Regions from separate parts of the Homo sapiens genome. Here all the other regions are linked to region 6. Evidence: promoter capture Hi-C in human tissues and cell types (Jung and others, 2019). All regions are on one chromosome and are shown on one strand. Each heading gives the region's core, a stretch centred on a gene start or on the middle of the fragment in contact. The rest is flanking DNA. Distances are from core to core; before and after follow the strand shown. Region 1 overlaps EHD4 (EH domain containing 4). Region 2 overlaps MAPKBP1 (mitogen-activated protein kinase binding protein 1). Region 3 has its middle 3.2 kb from the start of PLA2G4E. Region 4 holds the start of SPTBN5 (spectrin beta, non-erythrocytic 5). Region 5 overlaps EHD4 (EH domain containing 4). Region 6 holds the start of RPAP1 (RNA polymerase II associated protein 1).

Region 1 (2,700 bases), core at 1-2,500, 380 kb after region 6:
GGCTCAGCTATGAGGCAGGCGAGCCAGGAGCCCAGGCATGCAGGCTAACAGCCCGCAGCCCAGAATGAGGATGCGGGGGTGACCCAAAACCAGCACACTCCAAGAGTAAGACTGAGCCATACTTCTTCCCAGGGCTCCCCTGGATCCAGGTGGTAACACTGGCCTTTGGTGCACGGGGACTAGCAGTGGCCTCTCAGCATCCTGTTGGTCTCACCAATGCCACCTCTTTCAGGTTTGGTTGGTTATATTCCTATCGTCCTGACATCCTAACAGCTACCATGTAGTGGGTGCACTGATTGATCCCCCTCCCTGTGCACCAGGCACTATGCCAAGTGCTCTGTCACACTGACCAACTGTCACCCCAAGTTCTTGTGAAGTGCTCTTATTAGCTCCATGGTACAGATTGGAGAACAGGGTTAGTCATCTGCCCAGGAGTGCAGAGCCAGGAGCTAGGGTGTCAGCAGGGCCACCTGACCTCGAGGCTGTATTCTTAACCTAGCGCATGTTCATTCCTTAAGCCTTCTGGAACGAAGCCTCCTCCCACCCATCTTGCCTCTGGAGAGGAGACAGCAGAGTCCCAGCCCCTGGCCTCTGTGCAAGGCATCTCCTGGCTTACCTTGGCCAGCCTCGCTCGCTTGATGAGGTCGTTGAGCTTGCGCACCGCTGCCTTCTGGGGGAGGCTCTGGATGTCTCTAAAGAGGTCCTGGGCCTCAGCCTCGAAGAGCCGGCGGTTGTCCGTGTTCTGCAGGGGCTGCGCCCAGAAGGAGCCAATGTAGACGCGCAGTACCTCGGGCGTGTTGATGACCTTGCCTAGGGACCACATGAGGGCCCCGTAGACCCGCATCAGCTGCTGCGTGTCCACTTGGTCGGCCTTGTTCAGCACGACACGGATCTTGTCGTCCTGGCCCCGGAAGGCCTTGATGGCCTCTGAGAATTCATCTGAGATGTCCAGCTTGTGAGCGTCAAAGAGCAGGATGATCCTGTCCACCCTCTCGGCAAACCACTGCAGGACCTGGCAGAAGTCATAGCCTGGGTGGAGAGAAGGACACGTCAGTGTAGCCACTGCTGCAGGAGACACGTTTAATGGGCGGCTCAGGAACAGTCTCGCTCTCCAGCAGCTGCCAGGGAGAGAGCCCTGTCTCCAACCTGGAGGCAGTGGAGGCCTGGTGACATGAAAATCACGGGCTGGATGAATCCGGGTGGGAAGGACCTGGGGAGCCCTTCCACAGGAGGAGGGAGGAAAGAGAATGGGGCTCATGGTCACTTTGGGAATTGCTGACTTTCATATCTGCGATTTCATTTAGTCCTCATGAGTGTTTTATTTCACCTAATACAGACCTTTTGCTTGATGGCAGAATTGATCAATGGTTTTATAAAAACACAGGCCATGGGTCAAAAGATCTTACTTCTGAAAAGTCTCACTTTTCTGAAAGCCCCAAATACAGAAGAAAGAGAACCAGAGGCCACCTGGCATCCCATGGGGGTATCCAGTAAGCATAACAGAAGAGGCATCGCCTTCAATTAACCCAAGTTTGTAGAGTGCTGAGGAGGTCAAAGGTTGGCCCAGCCAGTGTTGTGATCAATATTTATCTTTGGACTATTTATAACTCAGGTATATTGTGAATATTTTTTTAACATTACGTATCACAGCCATTGTGTAAAATGGTCTCTTGCCAATTTCTTTTTTTAAAATGGCCTGGCCCACAGCAAATTCTGTCCAGCCTATTCTGACCACCTCCACAAATCATGCAGCTGCATAAACACTCTTCAGCCCAAGGTCAAGGCTCTCAGGCCTTTCCCCAGGGAGGCAGATTCCCACGAAAAGCAAACAAGAGGAGGCCAAGCCCACAAAGTTGACTTTTAATCTCAGTCTGACTAGTTGCAGAAGCAGAGTCTCAATCCAGCCCAGCTAGTGCTGAGATGTCACCTGCCTGACCCCCATGCTAGGGGTCGTCTCCCCTCTTCTTTTAGATTTTGAAAACTTTCAAACATACATAAACATCTGTAAGTCATATAATGAATGCTGATGTACCTACCACATAATTTTAACAAATGTTGACACTTTGCTTTGTTTGCTATTTCAGATATGTTTTAAAACCAAGTATCGTTTCTTTAGATAACAAAATACCATACGGTGGTGAGAAGGAACTAGATCTTCACTTGTCAACACAGGTAAATCTCCAGAAAAGAACAAGAGTAAAAGCTTAGTTTCAAAAGGACATATACAGCATGATAACATTCATGTAAAATGTTAAAATACAAAATACTCAACCATCTGTGGATACAGACTATAGCACAAATACAAAAATGTCAACATCGATTGTGAGACCCTGGTTGGCTGTGGGGGTGGAGAAGGTGTGAATCCAAGGCAGAGGAAAAAGTATCTGAGGTGAATAATCTATTAGGTGAAAATAAAGAGGGTCTGCGGACTAAGGTTTCCATGCATTTGAAGAACAGGTGTTAGAGGAATAGCTGAACAAGCAAACTGGATTCAGGTCCATTTTTCATAAAGAAAACAAGACAGTTGGTAACGCTGAAGCCCCCTGTGCACCCCTCCCTGAGCCCTTCCCCCCACTAGCAGGCCGCTGTCCTGAGTGTGGTGTTTATGCCGCCACACGCGTGGATACTTCCAGTTCATGCTTTTCATTTCTCTGTTCTGTCTCACTGCGGCACTCCCTGACTCCTTGGGGATAAGGAAGA
Region 2 (2,700 bases), core at 37-2,536, 260 kb after region 6:
ACCAAAATGTTATTATGTGACGTATGACTGTACTTATTCTATGCCAGGTACTTTTTAAGCACTTTATATGAATTATTTAATACTCTGAGCAACTATTATCACCCTCATATTTTAGAGGAGGAAATTGAGATCCAAAGAGGTCAAGCAGGCCAAGTGCAGTGGCTCACGCCTATAATCCTAGCACTTTGGGAGGGCAAGGTGGGCGGATCACCTGAGGTCAGGAGTTCAAGACCAGCCTGGCCAACATGGTGAAATCTTGTCTCTAGCAAAATACAAAAATTAGCCTGGCGTGATGGCGGGTGCTGGTAGTCCCAGTTACTCGGGAGGCTGAGCTGGGAGAATCGCTTGAACCTGGGAGACGGTGGTTGCAGTGAGCCGAGATCGTGCCACTGCACTCCAGCCTGAGCGGCTGAGCAAGACTCCATCTCAAAAAAAAAAAAAAAAAAAAAAGGTTAAGCAGGCAGGGTGCAGTGGCTTTGGGAAGCCAAGGTGGGAGGATTGCTTGAGACCAAGAATTTGAAACCAGCCTGGGCAACATAGTGAGAACCCTGTCTCTACCAAAAAGTAAAAATAAAAAAAATTAGCTGGGTATGGTGGCATGTGCCTGTAGTCCTAGCAACTGGGGAGGCTGAGGCAGGAGGATTGCTTGAGCCCAGGAGGTGAAGGCTGCAGTGAACTATGATCGTGCCATTGCACTCCAGCTTGGGTGACACAGTGAAACCCTGCCTCTTAAAAAAACCAAAAGGGTTAAGGAGTTTGCTTGAGGTAACATAGCTAGTGTGTGTAATGGGGTTCTAACCCAAGTAGTATGACTGTAGAGCTCTGATTGTTAAAATGGCACAGAGTAGGGGGAGACCACACTGTTTTTTTTTGAGACAGAGTTTCATTCTTCTTGCCCAGGCTGGAGTGCAATGGCACGATCTCAGCTCACCGCAACCTCCGCCTCCTGGGTTCAAGCAATTCTCCTGCCTCAGCCTCCAGAGTAGCTGGGATTACAGGCATGCGCCATCATGCCCAGCTAATTTTGTATTTTTAGTAGAGATGGGGTTTCTCCATGTTGGTCAGGCTGGTCTCAAACTCCCGACCTTAGGTGATCTGCCCACATTGGCCTCCCAAAGTGCTGGGATTACAGGTGTGAGCCACTGTGCCCGGCCACTTTCTGCTTATTTTTAACAAATTGCTTTTCCTCTAAGCTGCCTACCTGCCCTTTGAATGAGAAGAGCCCCATTTATGGGCAGCTCAGTCTGTGCAAGGGAGACTTCTGCCCCTGGGTTTGGGGTCAGTGTCTCTCCCAAGTGGTCCTCTGGTGTTTAATGGCTGCAGTAAGGGTGCTGTGGGAGCCACACGGGCTCTGCCTGGCAAAGGCTGGGCTAGGCTCCATTTTCCCCTAGAGAAGCAAGCTGATGGAAAGACCTCTCTACTGGATAAGTTTGTGCAGCCTGCCTCAGGGGAATTCCACTTGTTCTTGCCTCTGCCTGGGAAAGCCAGGTTCCCTCTTGTTGGAGGTGGGGCTGGGGCTGGATGTAGCACAGGCAAAAAAGGCCTTGGGGTGCTGCTTGGTGCATGCTGAGACCTGTGTCCCTGCCCTGGAGAGTGTGGAGTCCTGCCCGCTTTCTTCCTCACACACCCCTGGACTCCAGGCCTGGCCTTTAAGGGCATGTGCTTATGCATGTTTATGAGCAGGTCTCAGCCCAGTGCATGTGCCTGGGAGTCATGATCCTTCCAGATGGTGTACAGGCTTTCCTGATGGAACCTCTAGTAGGTTTCCTAAGCGTGTATGCTTGGCTTAGGCCATCCCTGGGCAGTGCCCCTAATCTGTTCCCTGACCTTTTGATTTCTTAGAACTTGAAGTTGTCTGTGCAAATGGCTTCTTTTCTGGGTGTTTGAGTTTTGCTGTGTTCTAGAACTCCCTGATGTGCTGCTGTGATGTTGGGGGCCACCAGATTCTGTGTGAGCACAAGCAGGTTCTTCACCTCCCTCCTTGTCTCCCTGCTTTTCTTATCTGATCATCCTTACACTGCCCCCAGCCCCCACGCTCTTGTTCCTCCTGTGCCTGTTGCTTTGGGAGCCAGCTCAGGTATCCTAGAAACAAGGAGAGAAACAAAACTCAGAAAATTCTCTGAGGCCCGGAGGCGAATATCAAACCAAAACAAAGTTTTCTGAAAGGAAATGGAACAGCACAGGAAAGGAGGGTGGGCAGTGTGTCAGGCAGAGGTGGGTAGGAGCTCCAGGCTGAGCATGGAGCCTGTCCTAGTGGCTCCTACATCCCTTGGCCGTTGTTTCCCCACGGGAAGCCCCCCTACTAGAGGATGCCAGACAGCCCCTTTGAGAGACTTAATTGAGTTGAACACCCTTAATTGAGTTGGGCCTTTTCCTCAGCCAGCTGGTGGAAGGTTGATGGGCCTTCAAGCCCAGCACAGCCCCTGTGCCCCTGTGCCCCTGTGCCCAGTCCTGAGAATGGGTTTCTCCTGGCTCCTATGCCAGAATGGCCTGGGTGAGTGCCCTGCGCACAGCTGCTCCTCTCCCGCTGGGATGGGAAGTGTCCCAGCAAGGTGACGGGGTGTATCTGGCAGCTAAGAAGAGACCTCTTGGTTGATTTAAGTGGGGAGGAGAAGAGGGAACCCCTGCTCTCCTGAGGAGGCCCTCCATTTCCTCAGCCCATGTTAAAATTGATTCTGAGATCCTCAGCTTTGAAGCATT
Region 3 (2,700 bases), core at 124-2,623, 480 kb after region 6:
ATGGATCTGAAAAGGCCTTACAGAGGAGGTGGCATCTGAATTGGGCTTTAGACGAGGAATGGGATTTCAACAGCTAGTGAGCCTAGGCACCACTAGGAGGAAGAGAGAGGCATCCTAGGAGGAAGAAACAGCATGAACACAGGCAGGGAGGCCAGAAAGCAGGGCACGCTTATGTATGCAGGTGGTCTGGTGTCTGTGCAGTGAGTTGTGTGGGAAGAGATACTGGGGGTAGAGAGTGGAACACAGGGGTGGTAGAAATTGGGCAGAAAGAAGGAGGCTTTGTGAAAGAACAAATCTGGAAAACACCCAGGTAAGGCCCCTCTGCTCTCTGGAGGGCCAGGCACATGAAGAGGTCCCACAGATACCACCAACTTGGTTCTGGCCCTGCATTTGGACCCAGTCTGCCCTGTGTTCAGAGGTCACCCTTCATTCCATACTAGATTAGGGTCCAAATAATCATGACCCTAAAAGGCCATACTTTATATTTGGACGTAGTCTCTAAGCAGTAGGGGGCTATTGATGGTTTTTGAGCAGGAGAGCTGAACTTTAAGAAGGCAAGGATGATTGATGTTGAAACAAGGGATCAATTAGGAGGTGAGATGTGAACCATCTGGGATAGGGGAAGTAGGGTGGAAAGTTAAGGGAGAGATAAGGCCAGAACAGGCCATACAAGCTAAGTCCAGGAGTTTCTGTGGCAACTCAACCCACAGCACTATACTGTCCTGAAAGTCATGGGGTCCCATCTGTCTCCCCATCCCTCCCACTCCCCCACCCTTCCCAATCAGATAGGCCAGGTTGAGCCCCAAACACCAGGGCATTCCTCAAGGCCTCCTATTTGGCCTCTTCTCACTGAAGAAGCCCAGCCACAAACCCCCACTCCAACTCGTATGTTTCCTCACTGTCTATCAACTCCTCAGAGCAGGGTCTCAACTCATTTTAGTTGAATTAAATCAAATTGAATAGGGGGCTGATGGGAGCTTGGTGGAAGTTTCTTCCCCCACATCCTCTGTGGTGCCTCTGTCCCAGGTGGGAGCCAGTGTGACCTTGAACTAAGTGGACTGATCTACTGGAAAGTATTTACCGACTGCCTGCTGGGTGCCCATCTCTGTGCTGACCACTCAGGTGGGGTCTGGAATAAAACAACCAAGAATGTAAAATCTAGAAAGGGGAGGAAAGGGGGTAAAATTAAATGGTAAATTGGCCAGTGTGGGCTCTAAGTGGGATGGGAGGGGAGCAGAGCAGAGGACTCGGGGAGTTGGAAGTGGACTGGGACAGTGAGTAAGGAGTGTCAGGCAAACAGTGACATCCCCACGCCAGGGTGCGGGTGCCAAAGCAGCAATCTTGGTACACAACTGCTGCTCCAAGTCAAGTGCTCTTTTGGTAGAGTTCCTTCTGTGTGGAAATTCTGAACTTGTCTCTGCAGCAAGGGGAGGGAACAGTTCCTTTCCACCCAGCACTGATGACCAGGGAGCCCCAGGATCCTCAGATCCCCTGGGCTACTTGGGCCCAGCCTTGCTGCTGTGTGCGCTGAGGCCTCCGACTCCAGGCCTGTCGCCAGGCTTGTTACCTGACACTTCAGATGGGGTGACCAGGCACTGCCTCTGCCAGCAGACTCTTGGCCTCAGGTAACCCAATATTGAAAAGCACATTCCTCCCAGAAGCCCAGTGGATGCCACTCCCCTGTGGGCCCAGCAAGGATGACTCCTCACTGTCCGCTTTCCAGGTGGTTCAGGGCCCTGTCCCTTCCTTCCCACCTCCTGCCAGCAGCACCTGTCTCCAGCCTCCTCTCTGCCTCCTACAGCTTGTGAGCTTTAGAAACACTCCCTTCAACCTCTCGTTCTTCTGCTGAAAAGCACCTAACGCTTTTCCAGTCTTTGCCAACAAACTCTGGATTCCAATACCTTCCATAAACCAGGTAGGACCCAGGAGCAGCTCTACGTATATACGGAATTTTAGCATACAATAAAGGAAGTATGTGAAATCAGTCGTGAAACTGTAAGAATTAAAGAGGAGCCAGGCGCGGTGGCTCACGCCTGTAATCCCAGCACTTTGGGAGGCTGAGGTGGGTGGATCACGAGGTCAGGAGATCGAGACCATCCTGGCTAACACAGTGAAACCCCATCTCCACTACACAAAAAATTAGCCGGGCATGGTCGCGGGCACCTGTAGTCCCAGCTACTCAGGAGGCTGAGGCAGGAGAATGGCATGAATCCGGGAGGCGGAGCTTGCAGTGAGCCAAGATTGCACCACTGCACTCCAGCCTGGGAGACAGAGTGAAACTCTGTCTCAAAAAAGAAAAAAAAAAAAAGGAAAAGAAAAGAAAAGAAAGAAAGAGGAAAGAAACATGAAAGGTGACTCGCCAGTAAGACAGGTTTACTTAAGGGAAAACAAACCTGAGAGGGGCTTCTGGCCAAGTTAGGTCAGAGGCATACTCTCTTACAGACTAAGAGTTTTTAAGGATTCAGAGTGGGAGAGTTTATCAGAGGCTTGGACTGCTTCTGTGTCTCTTTGTTGTGCTTATCTGGGAGGGAGAGTTGTGTGTCTGTTCCCATACATCTTCCTGTAGCTGCAGGCATACCTCCCCCCACCCCCCACTGGAGTCTGCTTTTAGCTTCCCTATCTTAGTGCACCTGAAGGGAAAGGAATGTGCTTATTAAGGCCCAATGTTTTACTGGGACCCATTGTATGCAGGCGAAGTTT
Region 4 (2,700 bases), core at 117-2,616, 350 kb after region 6:
TGGCCAGCTGGGTGCTCTCCAAGTCAGGGGTGCTGTGCGAGGAGGGCGTGGCTTCTGCTCCTCTGTGTCCCAGCCACTCCTCCTGTACTCAGGCCCCAGCTCCTCTGTTCTGCCCAGTGGCCTGGCGCAGGAAAGGTGACCCAGTAGTTCAGCCTGTCCCAGCTGCCTGCCCCAGCACCATCCCAGACCCCTTTCCCTGGGGCCCACCTTGGCCCTGAGGAAGGCCAGAGCTCGGCTGCTGTTCTCCAGGAAGTGCACACGCAGGCGGCCCCGGCTCGGGGGTGGCAGGGCCTCCCCTGAGATGAGCTCCAGCAGCCGCAGGAGGTGGATGCCGTCAGCCAGCTCTGTGTACAGGTTCCGGATCTTGATGCCCGCCTGGGGAGGGGACAGGGGTAAGTATGGGGTCAGCCCAGCCTCACCTGTCCTCCCATCCTGGGACCTGAGAGGTACGACCCAGAGCAGCTGCTTTGGAAGAAGGAGCTCTGGCCTCAGCTTGGCCTCAGGCAGATGACCCCACAGCTCACCCCGGAGGCCCACTGGCCAGAGCTGGGGGCCTGGTATGGGTGGGCTGTGGGTCACAGCTGGCTATACTCACCTGGCCGCACTGGAAGACGTTATTGATCCACTTGGTGAAAGTCTTCTCCTGCATCTGCATGTGCCGGGCCTGTAGCTTGCGAATGTGGCCCGTCTCGTACTGAGAGTCCATGGTGAGACTTGGACTGGGCGGGACCCGGAGTTCTGTGCTGGGCCTCCTGCTGCGGTGCCCTGCAGCCCCGAGGAGCTCCCGGGGACTGTGGGGCTGACCAGCCATCAGCCCTGCAGACTTTGGGGATGAGGAGCTGCTGGATGGCTCCCTAAACCTGGAGGGCATGCAGATTAGGGGATGATGTGAATGGAGATGGCCCCTCTACCAGGGGCCTGGGGTCCCGCCTTGCCAGACTGTCCTCACATTTCATGGGGGTTGCAGCTTGGAGCCCAGCCAGGTAAGGGCCAGTGCTTCTGGTCCCCTGTGCTTGAATGGCCCAGGGCCCCCTTTGCCCCACCCCACCTTCCAGATTCTTCTTCTCAGAGCCCCTGCTGCCAGGTCCCTCCACCACAGTGACTGGGACAGGTGGAAGGAAGACAGGAAACTGCTTACCTTGGTGATGCCTGGGTCCCACAGAGACGGCTCTGCTGGACGGATGGAGATGGTAGATAGCAGGGGCTGCTTACCTTGGTGATGCCTGGGTTCCACAGAGGCGGCCCAGCTGGACGGATGGAGATGGCAGATAGCAGGGGCTGTGGAGGGAGGGAGAGGGACATCAGGAGAGGCCAAGGCTGGAGCAGGGCTGCACCACAGCCCTCCCCTTGAGCCAGCGTGCTGGGGTGACGGCACACAGGCGGCATTGTCCTCCCACCTGCCACAGGGCGTGGCCCAGACAGGGAGGGGGTGGTTCAGGAATGCTCCAGGGCCATTGCCAGATGATGTCCTCCTTCATCATCCTCCCTTCCCCGCCAGCAACTTCTCCAACTCCAGGTGGGGGTCCTGGCTCCCAGGACGCAGAGGCCCATGGAGCGGCCCTGCCACCGCATGGGGTGCTGCAGTCTGCGTAGGAGGTACCAAAGGGCAGAGCCTCTGTGGGAAGCCTGTGGACGCACTTCCCAATCTGAGACTGCCCTCTGTACCCTCTTGGGGCCTCTCTGTGAGCACCCAGGGCGAGGGGATGAGGGAGCGTCCTGGGCCGTGGTCTTCTCATTCACCCCCAGGGAACAGCCCATAGACTGAGGGCCTCACAGACCCTGGGCTTGGCTTTCCAGGCCCTGCCAGAGTGCAGCCTGCCTAGCCCGGGGCTGAAGGGTAGGCTCCCTGGAGGAAGGGGTGACCTGGAACTGCGAGGGCTGTGGAGTCTCCTCCAAAATTAGAGACACGGTGTTAACTCTGGGCTCCACAGAGCTGGCCGTGGCCCGGGGCTCGGAGGCAGGGGTGCAGAGGGAGCTGGTGGGCGCCCATCCCTTCCTCCCCGAGCAGCCGTGGACTACATGCCAGAGTGAAGGCGAGTTCTAATTCTGGGGGTCTCACCCGCCTCTGGCTAAACTCAGGGTAGCAGTGTGGGCTGGGGTGTGTGTGTGTGGGTGTCTTCCAGCGGCCCTGGAGCCTCTGAAGCGACAGCCCGCTCCTCAGGGAGGCGCTCCTGGCAGCCACAGCCCACAGCAGGACAGCCGCTCAGCGCGCCCTTGAGAGCTGGGCTAGGGATGAGTCACACTTGAACCGCCTGGGCCCACTGCAGGCAGTCAGGGGTGACGCTGAGAGGTGCCGTGGTCTCGGGTGGGGTGCGGCTTCCTGCGTCTGAGAGACGCTTCCTCTCCTGCTGTCCTCTCCCTGCCAGGCCCCTTCTGCAGCGGCTGGCTTCCAGACACCCTGCGTCCCTCCCTTGCTCGCAGCAGTTGCTGTGGCGGTCCTCCCGTGCACCCCCCCTTCTGCCCTCACTGCCCCTGGGGGTCCTCATCACGGACCCCCTAACTCGGCATCCTGGACACCACCACCCCGCACCTTTCCACAGTGCAGCTCTGCTCGTGCCTGTGAAGCCTCCCACAGCCTGGGAAGGAAAATCCAGACTTGCCAGACCTTGCCTCAGCCAGGCCTTGGAAGCCTGCCAGCTTACCTAACCAGGCTAGTCTGCCCCCCTCACTCTGGGTGCTCTCCATGGGCCACTCACCATT
Region 5 (2,723 bases), core at 80-2,579, 390 kb after region 6:
ACAGCTTGGATGTCCAGGCCCCATTTCCTAGCTCTGTCGATTCTTTTGAGATATGGGTTGAGTAAACCTTATCCGAAAAGGTTGGGACTGGAAGTGTTTTGGATTTCAGATTTTCTGATTGGGGAATATCTGCACATACATATATAATGAGAGATCTTGGGAAAGGGACCCAAGCCTAAACACTAAATTCATTTATGTTTCATAGACACCATACACAGATGGCCTAAAGGTAATTTTACAGAACATTTAAAATAATTTTGTGCATGAAACAAAGTTTGGATCGTGCCCCGTCACATGAGGTCAGGTGTAGAATTTTCCACTTGTGGCATCACGTCAAAAAGTTTTGGATTTTGGAGGATTTTGGATTTTGAATTTTCAGTTTCAAGATGTTCAACCTGTATTGTGTTTGAGCACCTTAGCTGTGTTGGCAGGCCCTTGAAACAGCCTGTTCCTGTTTATATCACTACCCAGGCGCCTTTTTGATTCTTGAGGGCTTTCCTTAACATCTCCTTAACATTGCCTAGGAGGACTTAAAGATGTTTGTATATAGACGTTAAAATGGTAATCAGTGATTCTGAAGTTTCTGTTATTGCCCGTCATGTTACCTGAAGTGCAGTTAGATCCTCCCGGCTTCATGTACTATTACTGTCCACTGCTTTTACCAGCAGGGCATTTTCTGTCCTTTTATTTTTCATTGTCTTCCCAGTTCTATTCATTGGTTTATAATGAATAGGCTGGGATTAAGAGGCGAGAGCTTAAACATCAGGAAAAGACACTCTCGAATTTTCATTTGACAGCTGTTGTTCCTGAGAGAATAAGTCGATCTGTTAGAAAATTTAGATAGAGCTTTTTCCTTCTAGAGTTATTTAAATTTTTAAAAGGGAGAAGCTGTACTATTTTTATTACCAAAATCAAGTCTATTGAAGGCTACGCAAAACCTCATATTCTCAAGAAACCATAGGAATAATCTGTGGTTAAAACAGCACCTTGAAAATGCCAAATGCTAAATAGATTGATAAGAATACCAGTTGCTACATTATAATTTTTCAAAGGATGTTATGATTGGAGTCAGAATCCGGAGGTTTGTACTAAGTAGCTGGGAACACACTTGTGTTCATGCTAACTCTAGAAATATATCCTAGATTATGTTTAGGTTCAGCATGGACTCAATAGTATTCTAGGAAACAGTATTTCAGCGGCCAGCATGATAAGAGGTCGAGTGGGAAGGAAAATGCTATGCGTGTGGATAAAGGTGCTCTTTCTTCTCATCGCAGAGTCAAACACCTGGCTGCTATCACCAAGGACAAAGGATGTTCTGAAGAGTGAACCAACTCAGATTTACCCACACACTTCAAGAAAGCAATTTAGAAAACCGCAGGAATCCAAACATTCTTTCATTGGCTACTAAAATACAAGAAAAGAAATCAAGAAAAGTTTGTAGGACTTTTAGGAAGCTATTACTTGATCAGAATATTATTATTATAAATATATCAGAACACTTTTATCCTTGCTTGATGGGAATTCAACACTTCACGTCAGCCAGGAAAGCTACAGGTTAGTAACTAAACTAACCTAGTCTGTTGTCCCTAAAGATTTTCTGCCAATGGCCAGGCATGGTGGCTCACACCTGTAATCCCAGCACTTTGGGAGGCCGAGGCGGGTGGATCACACCTGAGGTCAGGAGTTTGAGACCAGTTTGGCCAATATGGTTACCATACTGATTATCATTTTAACATTTATATACAAACATCTTTAAGTCTTCCTAGACAATGTTAAGGAAATGTTAAGGAAAGCCCTCAAGAATCAATATGGTGAAACCCCGTCACTTCTAAAAATACAAAAATTAGCCAGGCATGGTGGCAGGCACCTGTAGTCCCAGCTACTCAGGAGGCTGAGGCAGGAGAATCACTTGATCCTGCGAGGCAGAGGCTGCAGTGAGCACTCCATTGCACTCCAGCTTTGGTGACACAGCAAGACTCCGTCTCAAAAAAAAAAAAAAAAAAAAAGATTTTCTGCTAACCATAATTGAACTAAGGAAAACTTGAGGGGTAAGGAGTTTCCATACGGAGTAGTATACTAAAAATTGCTCCAAAATCAATTGCCCTCATGGGTTTCATTTATACGGCTCCTAAACAGGAGATTTAGATGACGTTTACTCCCCTGGAATGCTATGTATTTTTTTTTTTAAATAAATAGGGATGAGGTCTCACTATGTTGGCCAAGCTGGTCTCTAACTCCTGAACTCAAGGGATCCTCGTGCCTCGGCCTCCCAAAGGGCTGGGATTATAGGCGTGAGCCACCGCGCCCAGCCACTCAGCTTTTGAGGGTTAATCATCAACCGCACAAAGGGGAAAGGAGGAGCAGTGGAGGGCAGTACACAAGCGGCCACCTTTCCTCCTTCCCAGGCACAATGCCCATAAGGGAGGCAAAGACCCGCCAATAAAGTCAGTGGGGGATGCTTTAAACATCTTGTGGGGTCACAGTTTGTACCCAGTCTATTATCCCATGTTGACATTAATTCTTGGCAAAGGTGGGGCTGTGGTCTTATGAAGCTGGTCTTACGAAGCTGGGTGTAGGTGTGAGTATACGTGAGAACGTGGCACTGTTTGCAATCGTTTGAGCTGAAGCTGCTTTACAACAGTATGCATTCTTTGGGGTTAGTGTGTTGAAAATGTCAGCTGAGTGACTTCCACCACCAGCTGCGCCCCTAACACCGTGTGGCA
Region 6 (2,700 bases), core at 138-2,637:
CCAACAAACAAGGAAAAAGTCTCCTACCCCAATGCCTACCCAAAGGCCCTAAGGAAGGCTGAACTAGATGAACTGAGAATCCATAGTATGGTAACAATTCACTCCTATAAGAGTCTACATAAGCAGAAACAATTCCTACTTATCCATGGATTCATGTGATCCAAAAGCAAAGTCCAGCTCACTTCATAGGGTGCGCCATACCTACATCACAAAGAGAGCCAGGGGGTTATGGGCACCAGTTTTGGAATCAATAGGCCAGAAGTCAAATACCAGTTCCGCTACTTACTAAATGCACTAAATGTGCGAAATTAGGCAAATTATCAATGCTGTCCTTTTTTTTTTTTTTTTTTTTTTTTTGAGACAGATTCTCCCTCTTGTTGCCCAGGCTGGAGTGCAATAGCACGATCTCGGCACACTGCAACCTCCGCCTCCTGGGTTCAAGTGATTCTCCTGCCTCAGGCTCCCGAGTAGCTGGGATTACAGGCGCCTGCCACCACGCCCGGCTAATTTTTTGTATTTTTTTAGTACAGACGGGGTTTCACCATGTTGGCCAGACTGGTCTCGAACTCCTGATCTCAGGTGACCCGCCCGCCTCGGCCTCCCAAAGTGCTGGGATTACAGGCGTGAGCCACCGTGCGCGGCCTCTATGCTGTCTTAAGTCCCATTTCCACAACTGTAAAATGTGAGTAACAGGTCCTATATAATAGGAAATGTGTGAGGATTTAAATGACTATACACGCAAAACGCCTAGCCCAGTGCCTGTTACTTATATAAATAAACCTCAGTAACAATTATTTTAGTCCTAAGTAAAGCCACCAGTGTGTTTCCCCACAAATCCAGCGCAGATTTGTCCAGAACCAATCAGTGCTAGAAGTGATAACATTTTCAGTTATTAATAGAATAAGAATGGGTTGGCCGGGCGCGGTGGCTCACGCCTGTAATCCTAAAGAGTAATGCCTAAAGAGTAACTCGTAAAAAAAAGTAGTCCTAACAATGGACCTCTGGGTTTATGTTGGCCTCTGAGGAGTCTCTGGGGCTCTTACATTGCAGCCTATCCTCCAGAGCCAGGATCCAATCCCGAGTCGGGACGCGTGACTGCCCTTACCGCTCAGGTCAAGGGCTCCAGTTAAGCCTCCTGGACCACCCAACTCTACAATGAGGAATCATCGAGTCGCAGCTTTCGCCGCCCGTTGAAGGGCCGTGCCCGAGATCTATGCACAGAGGAGGCCACAGTTGCTCCCTTACAGACCAAAGGCCCGCAGGCAGGTTCCAGCAAAGAAACTGGACACGCTACCCTGGGTCCTCCTCCCAGATCACCTGAAATCCGTCCCTCCAGCCCCGCCACCTACGTGCTCCAGGCCTGTCTGGGCGCCGCCATCTTGCCCCGCAGAGATCGCGTTTCCGCCGCCGCCAGATTCCAGCTTCCGCCCCGCAGCCCAGCCCCGCCTCTCCCGGTCTTATCTCGGAGCATTCTGGGCTTTGCTTGTTCAGTGCAGCGGACTGGTGAGCGCGGTGCTGCGCGGCTGGCGGTTTATTACCCCCACGTAAGCTCTATACCATCACCCAGAACACACATCCTTTTTTTTTTTTTTTTTTTTTGAGACAGAGTCTTGCTCTGTCGCACAGGCTGGAGTGCTGTGGCGCAATCTCGGCTCACTGCAACCTCCGCCTCCCGGGCTCAAGCGATTCTTGTGCCTCAGCCTCCCGAGTAGCTGGGATTACAGGTGCCCGCCACCACGTCTGGCTAATTTTTGTATTTTTAGTAGAGACGGGGTTTCACCATGTTGGCCAAGCTGGTCTCGAACTCCCGACCTTAGGTAATCCGCCCGCCTCGGCCCCCCAAAGTGCTGTGATTACAGGATGTGCCACCGCGCCTGGCCCACACATGCTTCTGATGTACAGCAGGCACAGCCCCTTCTGCACTTACGACACCCCTGGCAGGGACACAGCGTTCCTCAGACGTCCCTCTGCACTCACCAGCCAGTGTTACCACATCCCACATCCCAGCACCCACGCCCACGGCAGCACACAGAAACGTGGACACACACACACACCCCAACGTGACGAATGTGTTTATGGAAGAGCTAGAAGGTAACCATGAAAAAGGCCCAAGGAAAGAACACTGCCAGTGTGCACTGCAGAAATAGTGGTGGTGAGAAGAGAGGGAATAAAGCTTCCTTGCTAGCAAGGTTATCATCTTCTCCAGAATCTTGCCTTTGTTCATCCCACTCTCCCTTCTTGGAAATCCTCCCTCTTTTCCCTGCCACCCCTGTCTCCAAAGGATAACTCTTTAAGGCCTAGCTGGCGTCAACTCTAAAACCTCTGCCAGCCACGCCTACTCACCAAACTTTCCTTGGATTCACCTGGAATCTCACCGCCTGCACCAGTTGTGTGGTATGCTAAGAACACACTGCCAACTACCAACTGTCACCGGTTACCTTTTCACAGGCTTATGTCCTGTTCCCTTGAATAGACTGTCAGTTCCTTGTGGGCACCAGACCTTGTACTTTGCATCTAAATACTGAGCACCCAACGTGTTGCCATGCACATAGTAGGACCTTAAGTAAATCATTTCTAGACCAAAGGACATCATGGGGCAGCCAATGTTAGTCCAGTGGCTTTCCAACTTTAACAGGCACCAGAATCAACTGGAAGTCTTGTTAAACCAGATTGCTGGGGCCAGGCACAGTGGCACATGCC

What was found. The method cuts DNA at HindIII sites, captures the fragments that hold promoters and counts their contacts. A contact is called where the count stands out against the background at its distance.
Region 1: a contact is called between a fragment that was not itself captured here and the fragment with the promoter of RPAP1 in region 6, in 1 of the 25 tissues and cell types used here (lymphoblastoid cells).
Region 2: a fragment that was not itself captured here is called in contact with the fragment with the promoter of RPAP1 in region 6 in 3 of the 25 tissues and cell types used here (IMR-90 fibroblasts, dorsolateral prefrontal cortex and lymphoblastoid cells).
Region 3: a fragment that was not itself captured here is called in contact with the fragment with the promoter of RPAP1 in region 6 in 1 of the 25 tissues and cell types used here (lymphoblastoid cells).
Region 4: a contact is called between the fragment with the promoter of SPTBN5 here and the fragment with the promoter of RPAP1 in region 6, in 2 of the 25 tissues and cell types used here (mesenchymal stem cells and thymus).
Region 5: a fragment that was not itself captured here is called in contact with the fragment with the promoter of RPAP1 in region 6 in 1 of the 25 tissues and cell types used here (mesenchymal stem cells).

The regions. Positions count from the first base shown.
Region 1 is chr15:41,918,594-41,921,293 of GRCh38, forward strand. It overlaps EHD4 (EH domain containing 4), which reads right to left. Exons shown (of 6, transcript NM_139265.4): 4 at 617-1,029. Among named protein-coding and RNA genes, the nearest start is that of EHD4-AS1, 1.5 kb to the right of the region's middle. RefSeq lists an enhancer at 816-1,315. The HindIII fragment of the contact is 4,716 bases long and covers 1-2,700 here.
Region 2 is chr15:41,802,986-41,805,685 of GRCh38, forward strand. The region is part of intron 3 of MAPKBP1 (mitogen-activated protein kinase binding protein 1); the gene reads left to right. Among named protein-coding and RNA genes, the nearest start is that of JMJD7, 24 kb to the right of the region's middle. The HindIII fragment of the contact is 5,645 bases long and covers 1-2,700 here.
Region 3 is chr15:42,022,908-42,025,607 of GRCh38, forward strand. It overlaps a transcript of PLA2G4E not described here. Among named protein-coding and RNA genes, the nearest start is that of PLA2G4E, 3.2 kb to the left of the region's middle. The HindIII fragment of the contact is 5,855 bases long and covers 1-2,700 here.
Region 4 is chr15:41,892,687-41,895,386 of GRCh38, forward strand. It overlaps SPTBN5 (spectrin beta, non-erythrocytic 5), which reads right to left and starts at 1,367. Exons shown (of 68, transcript NM_016642.4): 1 at 1,213-1,367; 2 at 596-860; 3 at 208-375. The coding sequence starts at 811. LOC105370792 (a long non-coding RNA gene) reads left to right here and starts at 91. Exons shown (of 4, transcript NR_135681.1): 1 at 91-392; 2 at 2,541-2,650. RefSeq lists an enhancer at 152-211. The HindIII fragment of the contact is 14,752 bases long and covers 1-2,700 here.
Region 5 is chr15:41,937,808-41,940,530 of GRCh38, forward strand. All of the region lies in intron 3 of EHD4 (EH domain containing 4), which reads right to left. Among named protein-coding and RNA genes, the nearest start is that of EHD4-AS1, 18 kb to the left of the region's middle. The HindIII fragment of the contact is 6,898 bases long and covers 1-2,723 here.
Region 6 is chr15:41,542,870-41,545,569 of GRCh38, forward strand. It overlaps RPAP1 (RNA polymerase II associated protein 1), which reads right to left and starts at 1,388. Exons shown (of 25, transcript NM_015540.4): 1 at 1,350-1,388. RefSeq lists a silencer at 1-148 and enhancers at 628-1,209, 1,143-1,532. The HindIII fragment of the contact is 9,616 bases long and covers 983-2,700 here.